Linked DNA regions of Homo sapiens: regions 1 and 2 are each linked to region 3. Evidence: promoter capture Hi-C in human tissues and cell types (Jung and others, 2019). All regions are on one chromosome and are shown on one strand. Each heading gives the region's core, a stretch centred on a gene start or on the middle of the fragment in contact. The rest is flanking DNA. Distances are from core to core; before and after follow the strand shown.

Region 1 (3,770 bases), core at 542-3,041, 640 kb before region 3:
CCAAATATTTTCTCTTTAGCTATCTGAAATGATACAGAATAGACTGATTGGGACTGATGACAGCAAATTCAGATGACGGTTGCATTATAGAATGAGCTCTATTTTAGCCAAGTTGATAGCAAAGCAAATCCTAGTTCTCCATTAACTTCTATTATTAAGCCAGAGATGTGTTTTCATGAGGATTTAATGACTTTCTTGTGTGAACACAAAGAACAATACAATAAATGTGTAACAATATAATAAATGTGGGGCACTGACAAATGCTCCACAGACTACCTCAGAGTTCTCAGGGCCTGTGGACACTAACTTCTAAAGTCTTAGGTTGCACTTATGGCCTCTTTGCTGGGTTTTTTTTTTCCCATGAAAGGAGAGCAAGACATACTCTGTCCACCACAGACATGGATCAGTCGTTTCCTGGGCTTCACCAGAATGTCTCTTCTGGTTTTCATTAGTGAAGCGTGTTCACCATTGAAGACCAGAAGGGGCATTTAGGGAAGGACAATGGCAGCACTCATTACCCGGGTGAATCCGTGATTTCTGGACTGTGGGCCTCTTTTCTCACAGGGACCCTTGTCAATGCTCAGCTGAGAAAAGTCTTCACAGCACAGCTTACAACAAATCTATTAGAAGTGCAGAAATCTCCTAAAAGTGCTGTCATTAAGTCACATCACAGTCTTTTTCTCTCTAGTGATTCAACACATACTTTTTGAGTGACTATTATGTTCATATATTAGGTGCTAGGGATAAAATTGAGAACAATGAAGACATCTACTCTCAGGGAATTTATATTCAGGAGACAAAGAAAAAAATTGAATACATATGTACAAGATAATGGCAGGTAATAAGTGCATTAAAGAAAAACAAGAAAGTGCATTGAAGAAATGCAAGAATGACAGGAATTGTTACCATTTTAAATGCAGTGGTCAGAGAAGTCTCTTCTGAGGAGGTGACATTTGAGTAGGGACCACAAAGCAAGCCATGAGAATATATGAGAAGGTGTTTTTGGGCAGAGAAAACAGCAAGGCCAAAGGCCTGAGGCGGGAGACTGCAGGGTATACTTGGGTAGGAAGGCATTGTGGATGGAATGGAGTGAGCAAGTGGTACAGTGGGAGACAACAAAGCCAGAGATGACATCTTTTTCCTTTTCTTTGCCATTTAACTAAATTCCGAACATTGGCATATATTCTTTTTCTTTCCCTGGAAACTCTTTGATTCCACACTGGCAGCTTCCAAAGATGTACTCACTTCTGGGCATGTATAGGGTCTCATAGAGCTGAATTGCAATACCACCTCTCACCAGCAGTTGCCACTAGGGCACCCAATTCCTACAGTTTTGTAATTCTATTTCAAATCTGCAACACATTGAGTGCATGCCAGGGGTCAAGTACTGCGCAGGCTGCTGGGTTACAACAATAAGTTAGATACAGTCTGGTAGGCATAAATTCAAGGCTTCAGTGAAATGACCCATGTGGAGACTGACTTCTGGCTTTGACGAAACAGAATAGGCCGATGCTCATTCTACTTTGGTTCTGTTGCTGGGGACAATGAAGGCTCTATCCCTCTGTCTTCCTCCCGCATCAGCCTGAACTTCAGGTCACCTCCTAACCCAAGACCTTTCTGAAACCTCAGCTACATGACATCATTTTCTGGTGTCATCTGAAAGAAGGAGAGTCTCCAGTCTGGAAAAGCTCCCTTGGGATTTTTCTGACAGGTGGTGGAAAAGAACAATTCCAATTCCTCTCACCTTTAGATTGTACCCTCCAAACCCTGCAATTAGGTCTCTGTCTTGCTGGATTTTCTCCACAACCCTGAGACTTGGGTATTATTATCTACATTTTACAGTTGAGAAAGCTAAAGGTCAAAAGGGCAAGGGGATGTTCCCAAGTTTTTGTTGGTTACTAAGCTACTGCCTCTCACCTTCAGACTTGCCTTTCCACACTCAGCTCTGCAACTTGCAGCTGAGAGTGGGAACAGCATTTTTACTTAGCCAGCGGGTTTCCTATTGGGTTTTGTCATTAGGGGGCACTAGAGGGATGCTGGAGGCAGGAGAAGGGAGAAGAGCTGTGGAGCTTCCTGTTTTGCTTGTTGCCCCTGTAAGTGGTCTGGCCTGAGATCCCAGTCTCTTGGGACCTTACAGTTTCTATGATGTGGTCACCGTTTGGTCCAGCTGCCCAGACTTGCTAAACATCCCTTGGGCTGGTCCTCCAGGCCCTGAGATACCCTCCAAAGGATTAGGGGTGCCCTCTTCTCCCACAGCAGCTTGGAAAGTACCATAAATTCACTTGTTCTCTTAATTTGTGAAACCTCCTGGACTTGTCTATGAAGAGCTCCTCAGAAACACCCTCTTCATTACAATGTTAAATTAAAATTTAGTAGACGAGGCACATAGCAGAATAAACTTTCAATTAAAATATACACACTGCGATGGTGAAGGGAGACTGGAGAGAACTTGCCGGCATCTTTGCCGTGAATGTGCTCGAGATTTAATTTTACTATGACATCTCCTTGGAATTACACAGCTAATTGATCACATTGTGTCTGTCTGTTATTGAAACTTTCAATAAAACTGAGATTAATGGAAGGTGTAATCCTCCCGGGCAGAACAAATATTCCCATTGCTCATGTCAGGTACAGAAATGGAAATGCTCTGCTAACAGCTTTTTGCATTCAATCTGCGCACATGAAGTTAATCATGAAAAATGCAGTGATTCTTTAATGGCTTGAATGAAATTTTTTCTGCCTGCCCCATTTCTCACCCAAAATAGCTGCCCTTGTCAGAGACTCGAGTGAAGTGGCTGAGAGGCAGAGCCAGGTTCCAGGGGCTGGGGCTCAGGACGGGCTGGTGATATGGCTGGTGCCTATATCTGAGGACAGGGTCCACCACCCTTGAGAATCAGTGTGCCTGTCAGATGGCATAGAACCGGGAAGGAACGAAACCCAGCTACTACAGGGGCCAAGGGCACCCCCCATCAAATTGTAATTTTGGCAAGAGTTTCTGTGGTAAGCCATGGGGAAAAGGGCTTGTCTCTGAGACTCCCATGTGGGGAGTAACAGGTGCTGAATCTAGAAGCCACCAAAAAAGAGAAACCTCCTAGTTCTAGCTCAGGTGGGAGGCAGGGTAGTATAGCAGTTAAGAGCATCCCAGCTCTACTATTAACCAGTGACCTTGGACAAGTTACTTAAATTTGCCTTGCTTGTTTCCCCTCCTGTAGATTAAAATGATGTCTTAAAGTGTTGTGATTTATGTTGCTGACATATGCAAAACACCCAGAATGGGGCCCAGCCCATGCCGTGCAAGCGTTGGCTATTATCATTACTATGCTCTCAGCTGAAGCTTTGTCTTCTCCACCAGCATCTCCTGTTCAACGGTATTTAAGGACAGGCTTTGGAGTCAGTTCCTAGGGCCTTGATTACTAGATCTTCCCGGATTCCTATATCTCCAAGCTGCAGTTTTCTTTACTGTAACTTAGAGATGCTATTACTTGCCTCCTAGGGTTGTTGTAAAGATGAAATATGTGTAGAGTCCTCAGCATGCAGAAAACACTTAATAAGTAGCTATTACAATCCCGACCATTGTTTCCATCCAGGCCCTGCAGAACCGATCCAACTCCCAGTATGAGCATGGGAAAACCCTGCCTCAGGTTTAGTTGTGATTGATCTTCCAGTAGCTTCTATCCATTTGAGTTCCTTGAACTAGGTCTGGATAACTGGGCCACGCTGAAGTCAGTTCCCTCTAACCCATGACAGCCCTTCTGATTCTTGAAATTGGT
Region 2 (3,808 bases), core at 923-3,422, 620 kb before region 3:
TTTTCTTTCTTTTTTTTTCCCCTTGGGACAGGGTCTCACTCTGTCACCCAGGCTGGGTGCAATGGCATGATCTCAGCTCACTGCAACCTCCACTTCTCCAGTTCAAGTGATTCTCCTGCCTCAGCCTCCTAAGTAGCTGGGATTACAGGCATGCACCACCATGCCCAGTTAATTTTTGTATTTTTAGTGGAAACGGGGTTTTACCGTATTGGCCAGGCTGGTCTCAAACTCCTGACCTCAAATGATCCACTCACCTCAGCCTCCCAAAGTGTTGGGATTGCAGGCATGAGCCACTGCACCTGGCCACGATTACTTTTCTGCATACTATGATGGCCCAGCCTTTCATCTTCCATGCAATTCATAACTGTCCTGGGTCTTTCATTTCTCTCGTTTTCTGTGGATTTTCCAATAATCCAATGCCAAGCTCTCTGCCAATTGTCTAGATTTCCCCAGAAGGTGTTCAGACAGATATACTATATGTTTCATTTTCCTGAAGAAACCCCTAACCAGCCTGTCAGAGGTGGGTGTTCTCCCAGCCTGCTGCTTAGTTGACATCTGGGACCTTCCATCACATCATTGTGGAGATTCTCTTTGCCTGTCTCCTGGGTTGGATCTCCTGTGTACTCTGTCCCCTGTATCTCTTTCTCTGTTTACCCTGCTTATTGGGGACCAACCCATCTCTGCTGTTTTCATGAGAAACAGTGCCTGGAAGATAGACTTTTGACATCTTGCATGTCTGACAATATCTTCATTTGACCTTTACACATAATTGGTAGCTTTGCTGGGTAAAGACTTATAGGTTGGTAATTATTTTCCTTTCAATGTGGATCCTTCAGTTTTGGGATTTTTAGTCAATTGTTCCTTTCATCATTTTCTCAGGTCCCCTTTCTGAAATTCCTTTTGTTTAAATATTATACCTTCTGGACATGTCTGCTAACATATTTTTCTCCTTTCCACCTTTTTGTCTTTTGGGAGATATCTCTTCACTCTATCGTCTATCCTAATGAGTTTTTCATTTCTGCATAATTTTAGAAGCTATTTGATAATTTTAGAAGTTTTTTGATGTTTATGTTATTTCATTCTTTTTTTTTAATCGGTGCCATTTTCTGTTTTTTTGAGATAGAATCTCACTTTGTCACCAGGTTGGAGTGCAGTGGCATGATCTCGGCTCACTGCAACCTCTGCTTCCTGGGTTCAAGTGGTTCTCCTGCCTCAGCCTCCCGAGTAGCTGGACTACAGGCGTGAGCCACCATGCCTGGCTAATTTTTTATATTTTTAGTAGAGATGGGGTTTCACCATGTTGGCCAGGATGGTCTTGATCTCTTGACCTCATAATCTGCCTGCTTCAGCCTCCCAAAAGGCTGGAATTACAAGCGTGAGCCACTGCGCCTGGCCTCATTATTTTTTTACAGCAATCTTTCCTCTCTGCAAACCAAAAATAAAATTCTAAGACCCCCACAGCCATCTAAAGGGACCCCTCCTCTTGGCCAAGGGCATTCCAAAGTTAAGCTGAAAAACAAGTTCAGGCCATGATGGGAAGAGGGAGCTGGACATGCCTCATTATCCCCTCTGCCCTTTTGGAATTATGGATAGAACAGACTCTGTACATCTGAGAAGAAACATTTACAGTCTATTCTCTCTGTATCCTGCTACCTGGAGTCTTTGTCTGCATGATAAAGCCTTGGTCTCCACAACCCCTTATGGTTACCCAGACATTCCTTTCTAGTGATTTTTTTTTTTTTTTTTTTTTTTGAGACAGAGTCTTGCTCTATCACCCAGGCTGGAGTGCAGTGGTGCAATCTCGGCTTACTGCAAGCTCCACCTCCTGGGTTCATGCCATTCTCCTGCCTCAGCCTCCTGAGTAGCTGGGACTACAGGTGCCCGCCACCACTCCTGGCTAGTTTTTTTTATTTTGAGTAGAGATGGGGTTTCACCATGTTAGCCAGGATGGTCTCAATCTCCTGACCTCATGATCCGCCTGCCTGAGCCTCTCAAAGTGCTGGGATTACAGGCATGAGCCTCCGCACCCAGCCATTCCTCTCTATTGAGAATAACTCTTTTGACCAATTGCCAGTCAGAAAGTCTTTGAATCCATCTATGACTTGGAAGCCCCACCCTGGTTGTCCCACATTTCCAGATGGATCCAATGTACATATTATATGTAGTGATTAATGTCTCATGTCTCCCTAAATGAATAAAACGAAGCCGTTCCCTGCCCACCTTGGGCACACGTCCTCAGGATCTCCTGAGGCTGTGTCCTTAACCTTTGCAAAATAAGCTTCCTAAATTGATTGAGACCTGTCTCAGATACTTTTGGTTTACACTACTGTGATGGATAGTTTTCTCTCTCTTTAAGTTTCCCTTTTCCTGCAAGGTCTCTGCCTCCTCCAAGCTGCTCTTTTTCCCATGCTTATTTAAGTTTCTGTCTTTCACATTAAAGTTCTCCTCAACTGTCTGGGGAGCCTTAGTTCCAGCTCATATTTGAAAGCTAACTGGAAGCTGCGCTTATGGATACAGCTTGTCAATTGTGAGCTTCACGTAGCTGGTCTCTGGGCATCTCAATGTTGGTATCTCTAGGTTTTTCCTTTGGAGATTGTCAGATGACCTGGAGATCATTTCCATGTCCTGCCTAGCAATCTGGGAGCTGAGGGCGAGAAGAAGTCTGGGAGGTGGGGTTCCGCACTGAGTCTGCAAACCTTTACTAATTCTCCCTGCTCTCTGCTGTATCTGGGGTGCTTCAGTGCCTCTATTTTTTTTCCTTTCCCTAGAGAATAGACCTTCCAGAGACTAAAGCTTCAGTTCTCTGCAGGGGTGAGGAAAAAGGGACTTGCGATCTTCTTACACAGACTCTCAACTAATGGCTTTGTTTCTGTCACATGTTAATCTACATTTCCAGCAGACTATGGTAGTGGGGGCAGGTGGTCTGAGATGTAATCCAGGTTGCCTGTTGGCTTTTCTTACTCTTGATTGAGAAGCAGATTTCTTAGTTACAGCCCTTCCAACTGCTCCTCCAGCTGCTTTCCTGCTTCCAAAATTTTGTTGTAGTTATATCCTTTCACTTACCTTTTAAAACCTAATGGGCTTATGACTTAAAAGAAATCCTTTTATTGTTATTTTAGTGAGGCTTGAGATAGAGCAGTGCTAAATGCATGTGTTTAACCTGCGCCAACTTTAACTTTTTAAAATTACAAATAATACATGTTTACTGTAGCAAAATTAGAAAATATAATTAAGAAAATAACACATAATCCCAGCACTTTGAGAAGCTGAAGCGGGTGGATCACCTGAGGTCAGGAGTTTGAGACCAGCCTGGCCAATGTGGTAAAACCCTGTCTCTACTAAAAATACAAAAATTAGCCAGGTGTGGTGGTGTGCACCTGTAGTCCCAGATACTTGGGAGGCTGAGGCAGGAGAATCACTTGAACTCGGGAGGCGGAGGTTGCAGTGAGCCAAGATCATGCCATTGCACTCCAGCTTGGGTGACAGAGGGAGACTCTGTCTCAAAAAAAAAAAAAAGAAAGAAAGAAAGAAAGAAAATAAATGTAACCACAGTAATAATGCTCTTACTTAGGAAAAATGATTGTTAATATTACAGAGGTAGGTCCTTCCATTACTTCATATATATTAATTCTTTCTCACTATATTATATATGTATGCAATGATTGGAAATCAATAAACACACTATTTTTAATCTTAATGTGAACACCTTTCCAAGTCTCTAAACATATTTCTAAAATGATTTTAATGGGGCTGGGCATGGTGGCTCATGCCCGTAATCACAGCACTTTGGAAGGCTGAGGCAGGTGGA
Region 3 (3,542 bases), core at 1-2,500:
GCCCAGAAAAGACTAGTCCCAGGAGACAGGCGCGCAGGGCCTACTTACGATGGTGTCGCACCAGAACTCGGCCACCTCGTGCACCCGCATGGAGGTAAGCAGGATCTCCCAGACCTCGAGCTTGAACATGTTTCCGATGATGATGTGCATGGGCTGGCCCACCTGCCGACTGTCGTCAATGACTGTCCGCTCCTCATCACATTTCATGGTGCGGAAATGAAAGATCACCTAGTCACCGAGACGGTGCACTCTGCTCTAGACACACTGTTCAAGGCCCGGCAGAAGCCACCCCCTTGCCACCGACACCCAGGGCTGTCCCCAGGGTCAGCTCACTCAGTTCACCCCATCAGATGCCTCAGACCCCTGGAGCACCTCCACCCTGCCTGCACCCCCCAGGGAGGAGGGACCCACCCCTCCCTACAGACCCCATTCCACTCCCCACAGCCCTGTGCGTCCAGAAATCCTTCCTCAAGTAAGCCCGAGTTCTTTTTTTTTTTTTTTTTTCTGAGACAGAGTCTCACTCTGTTGCCCAGGTTGGAGTGCAGTGGTATGATCTCGGCTCACTGCAACCTCCACCTCCTGGGCTCAAGTGATTCTCCTGCCTCAGTCTCCTGAGTATCTGAACTGGGATTACAGGCGCCCAGCACATCTGGCTAATTTTTGTATTTTCAGTAGAGATGGGGTTTCACATGTTGGTCAGGCTGGTCTCGAACTCTTGACCTCATGATCTGCCCATCTTGGCCTCCCAAAGTGCTGGGATTACAGGCGGGAGCCGCCTCGCCTGGCCAAAGCCCGAATTCTGTAGCCACAGACGCACCCTTCAGTCCAGGGAAGCCTAACAGACATTTGGGGACAAATACCAAGACTCCTCGGACTCCCTTTCTTCTCACTCAACATTTAGGGCCCCAGAAAATTCCCAAAAGCCCTTCCCCTCAGCCCATGCTAAAGTTGAATCTGCAAAGTACCAAAAATGCCCCCTGAATGGGTAAACGCTGGGAGCTCCCCGGAGGCCCAGCGCTGGGGCTGCCTGGCTGTTTTTTTGGCACAGCTGAAAGCTGTTTACAGTGCCTTGGGGCACACCTGGAATGTTGAAAGCTGCTGTGGGGGACCCTGTCTGCTCCGGAGGGGCCCCACTCACTCGGGATCCGGTGATGAAGTTTGGGAGCTCGCCCGTGCCCCCGTGCAGAATGGTTTTCTTGACCCCTTCCACGTTCAGGAGCAGAGCGGCATCCATGGCTGCAGGAGAAAGGGAGGTGTCCAGCACAGGCGGAGATAATCTCACCTCCGGGGAAGACACTTAGGCGGCTGAGACTCTGGGATTTACCCAGCCAGGAGGAGTGGGGGGAAGGGCAGACGGTGGGGGCGGTGACCTAGGCGCCCCGGCTTCTCATCAGAGCCACTCGGGCCGGGCCTGTGGTCCACAGGCAGCCTCGCCTCCTATCCCATCCACCTTTGCTTCCAGTGATTCTGGGCCCCTGCCCAGGGTTGTGCTAGATTTGGCTTTTTGTTCCACCCCAAGAAGGAAAAAGGTCCGCTGAGCTTTCTTAAAGAAGACAGGGGACCAGGCGCGGTGACTCACGCCTGTAATCCCAGCACTTTGGGAGGCCGAGGCGGGCAGATCACAAGGTCAAGAGATCGAGACCATCCTGGCTAATATGGTGAAACCCCATCTCTACTAAAAATACAAAAATTAGCCGGGGGTGGTGGCGGGCGCCTGTAGTTCCAGCTACTCGGGAGGCTGAAGCAGGAGAATCGCTTGAACCCGGGAGGCGGAGGTTGCAGTGAGCCAAGATAGCGCCACTGCACTCCAGCCTGGCGATGTGGAGAGAGGCCTGGAGGCCACTGAAGGGGAAAAGGAGGGGAGGCATGGGCTGGGCCCAGACTCTAAGTCCCCGAGGACCCCAGGCCAGCCGGGGTGACAGCTGCCCTTTGCCATCCAGCCACCTTTCTGCTTTCCCTGTTCCCCCTCCCCTCCCCAGAATCTGCCTTCAGGAGGCCCTGCGATGGTGGCCCAAGGCAAGAGGGGACAGGTTTCTGGCTTGGGAGAGAAGGAAGACGGAGAACGAAAGGCGGGGTGGGTTTGGGTAAAGTTGAGGCGCCCTCCGCAGCCCCGCTCCTGCCTCCCCTGCAAGGTCTGGCTGGGGGAAGGGTGGGTATCCCCTCCCCTCCCCTCCCCTCCCCTCCCCTTTGGAGGCCCTTAGCCCTGTGCCCTGGGAACCAGGCAGAGTTTATTGAGGGCATCAGGGACGCCCAGAAGGGCTGGGAAACATAAATGCGAAGACCTGGTGTTTGGCACCACCGTGTGGCCAGTTCAAGCTCCTACACCTCCGCACCCTGAGGGCACTGGACTCAGCTCCACGAAACCATTCTCTTCCTGACACCAGGCTCACCGGTTGCAGAGGGAAGGGGTGCAGGACTCTGCTACAGGGAGAGATAAAAACACGGGACTAAGGAGGCTGAAGTAGGTGGATCACCTGAGGTCAGGAGTTTTGTATTTTTAGTAGTCTGTACTAAAAATACAAAAATTACCCAGGCATGGTGGTGCGCACCTGTAATCCCAGCTACTCAGGAGGCTGAGGCAGGAGCCTCGCTTGAACCCGGGAGGCGGAGGTTGCAGTGAGCTGAGATCGTGCCACTGCACTCCAGCCTGAGCAACACAGCGAGACTCTGTCTCAAAAAAACAAAACAAAACAAAAAATGCTAGACTAGGCTGGGTGCAGTGGCTCATGGCTGTAATCCTAGGACTTTGGGAGCCAAGGCAGGTGGATCACCTCAGATCAGGAGTTAGAGACCAGCCTGGCCAACATGATGAATCCCCATCTCTACTAAAATTACAAAACTTAGTCGGATGTGGTGGTGGGCACCTGTAATCCCAGCTACTCAGGAGGTTGAGGCAGGAGAATCGCTTGAATCCAGGAGATGAAGGTTGCTGTGCACCAAGATCATGCTGCTGCACTCCAGCCTGGGGCACAGAGTGAGACTGTGTCAGAAGAAGAAGAAGAAGGAGAAGGAAGAGGAGGAGGAGGAGGAGGAGGGAAGAGGGAAGAGGGAAGAGGGAAGAAGAAGGAAGAAGAAGAAGAAGACTGGACTGAGCCAGATACAGCTAAGTTCAAAGGGCTGATCCTTTCCTATTTACTGACCTTGTTGCCTTGGATGTCTCTCGTTTTCTCTAACTGCATTTTCCCAACTGAAATGAGAAAATTGACCTCTCCTGCTCCTTCTCAGGGGAAGTTGGGAGGGCTGCAGCAGTGAATGGCACCCTGAAATCCGGCACTCATGAAAGTCTTGCTTCCCGTGAGGAGTCATTGGCATAGAGGAGACCAAACCTGGGCCAACTGGTCAGGCCCAGGGAATCCTGGCCAGATCCCCAAGGGTCCAGTCTCCATCCCTGGAAGGCAGAAGGCTGCTGAAAACCTTCCCCTTCTCTCTTCCATCCTTTCTCCAGCCACACGGCAACCTAGAGAGGTCTGCATGCATAGGTAAAATGGATACTTAGTAAAACTAATACAGGAATTATTAAGAAATAATTTTTAGGCAGATAG

Evidence for each region. The method cuts DNA at HindIII sites, captures the fragments that hold promoters and counts their contacts. A contact is called where the count stands out against the background at its distance.
Region 1: a contact is called between a fragment that was not itself captured here and the fragment with the promoter of AIPL1 in region 3, in 2 of the 25 tissues and cell types used here (mesendoderm cells and spleen).
Region 2: a fragment that was not itself captured here is called in contact with the fragment with the promoter of AIPL1 in region 3 in 1 of the 25 tissues and cell types used here (spleen).

What each region holds. Positions count from the first base shown.
Region 1 is chr17:5,792,039-5,795,808 of GRCh38, forward strand. The region is part of intron 1 of LOC339166 (a long non-coding RNA gene); the gene reads left to right. Among named protein-coding and RNA genes, the nearest start is that of NLRP1, 210 kb to the left of the region's middle. The HindIII fragment of the contact is 5,445 bases long and covers 1-3,770 here.
Region 2 is chr17:5,810,689-5,814,496 of GRCh38, forward strand. All of the region lies in intron 1 of LOC339166 (a long non-coding RNA gene), which reads left to right. Among named protein-coding and RNA genes, the nearest start is that of NLRP1, 230 kb to the left of the region's middle. The HindIII fragment of the contact is 3,094 bases long and covers 626-3,719 here.
Region 3 is chr17:6,433,871-6,437,412 of GRCh38, forward strand. AIPL1 (AIP like 1 HSP90 co-chaperone) reads right to left here and starts at 1,251. Exons shown (of 6, transcript NM_014336.5): 1 at 1,139-1,251; 2 at 49-228. The coding sequence starts at 1,234. LOC107985017 (a long non-coding RNA gene) reads right to left here. Exons shown (of 3, transcript XR_001752776.2): 3 at 3,428-3,467. The HindIII fragment of the contact is 7,871 bases long and covers 1-3,542 here.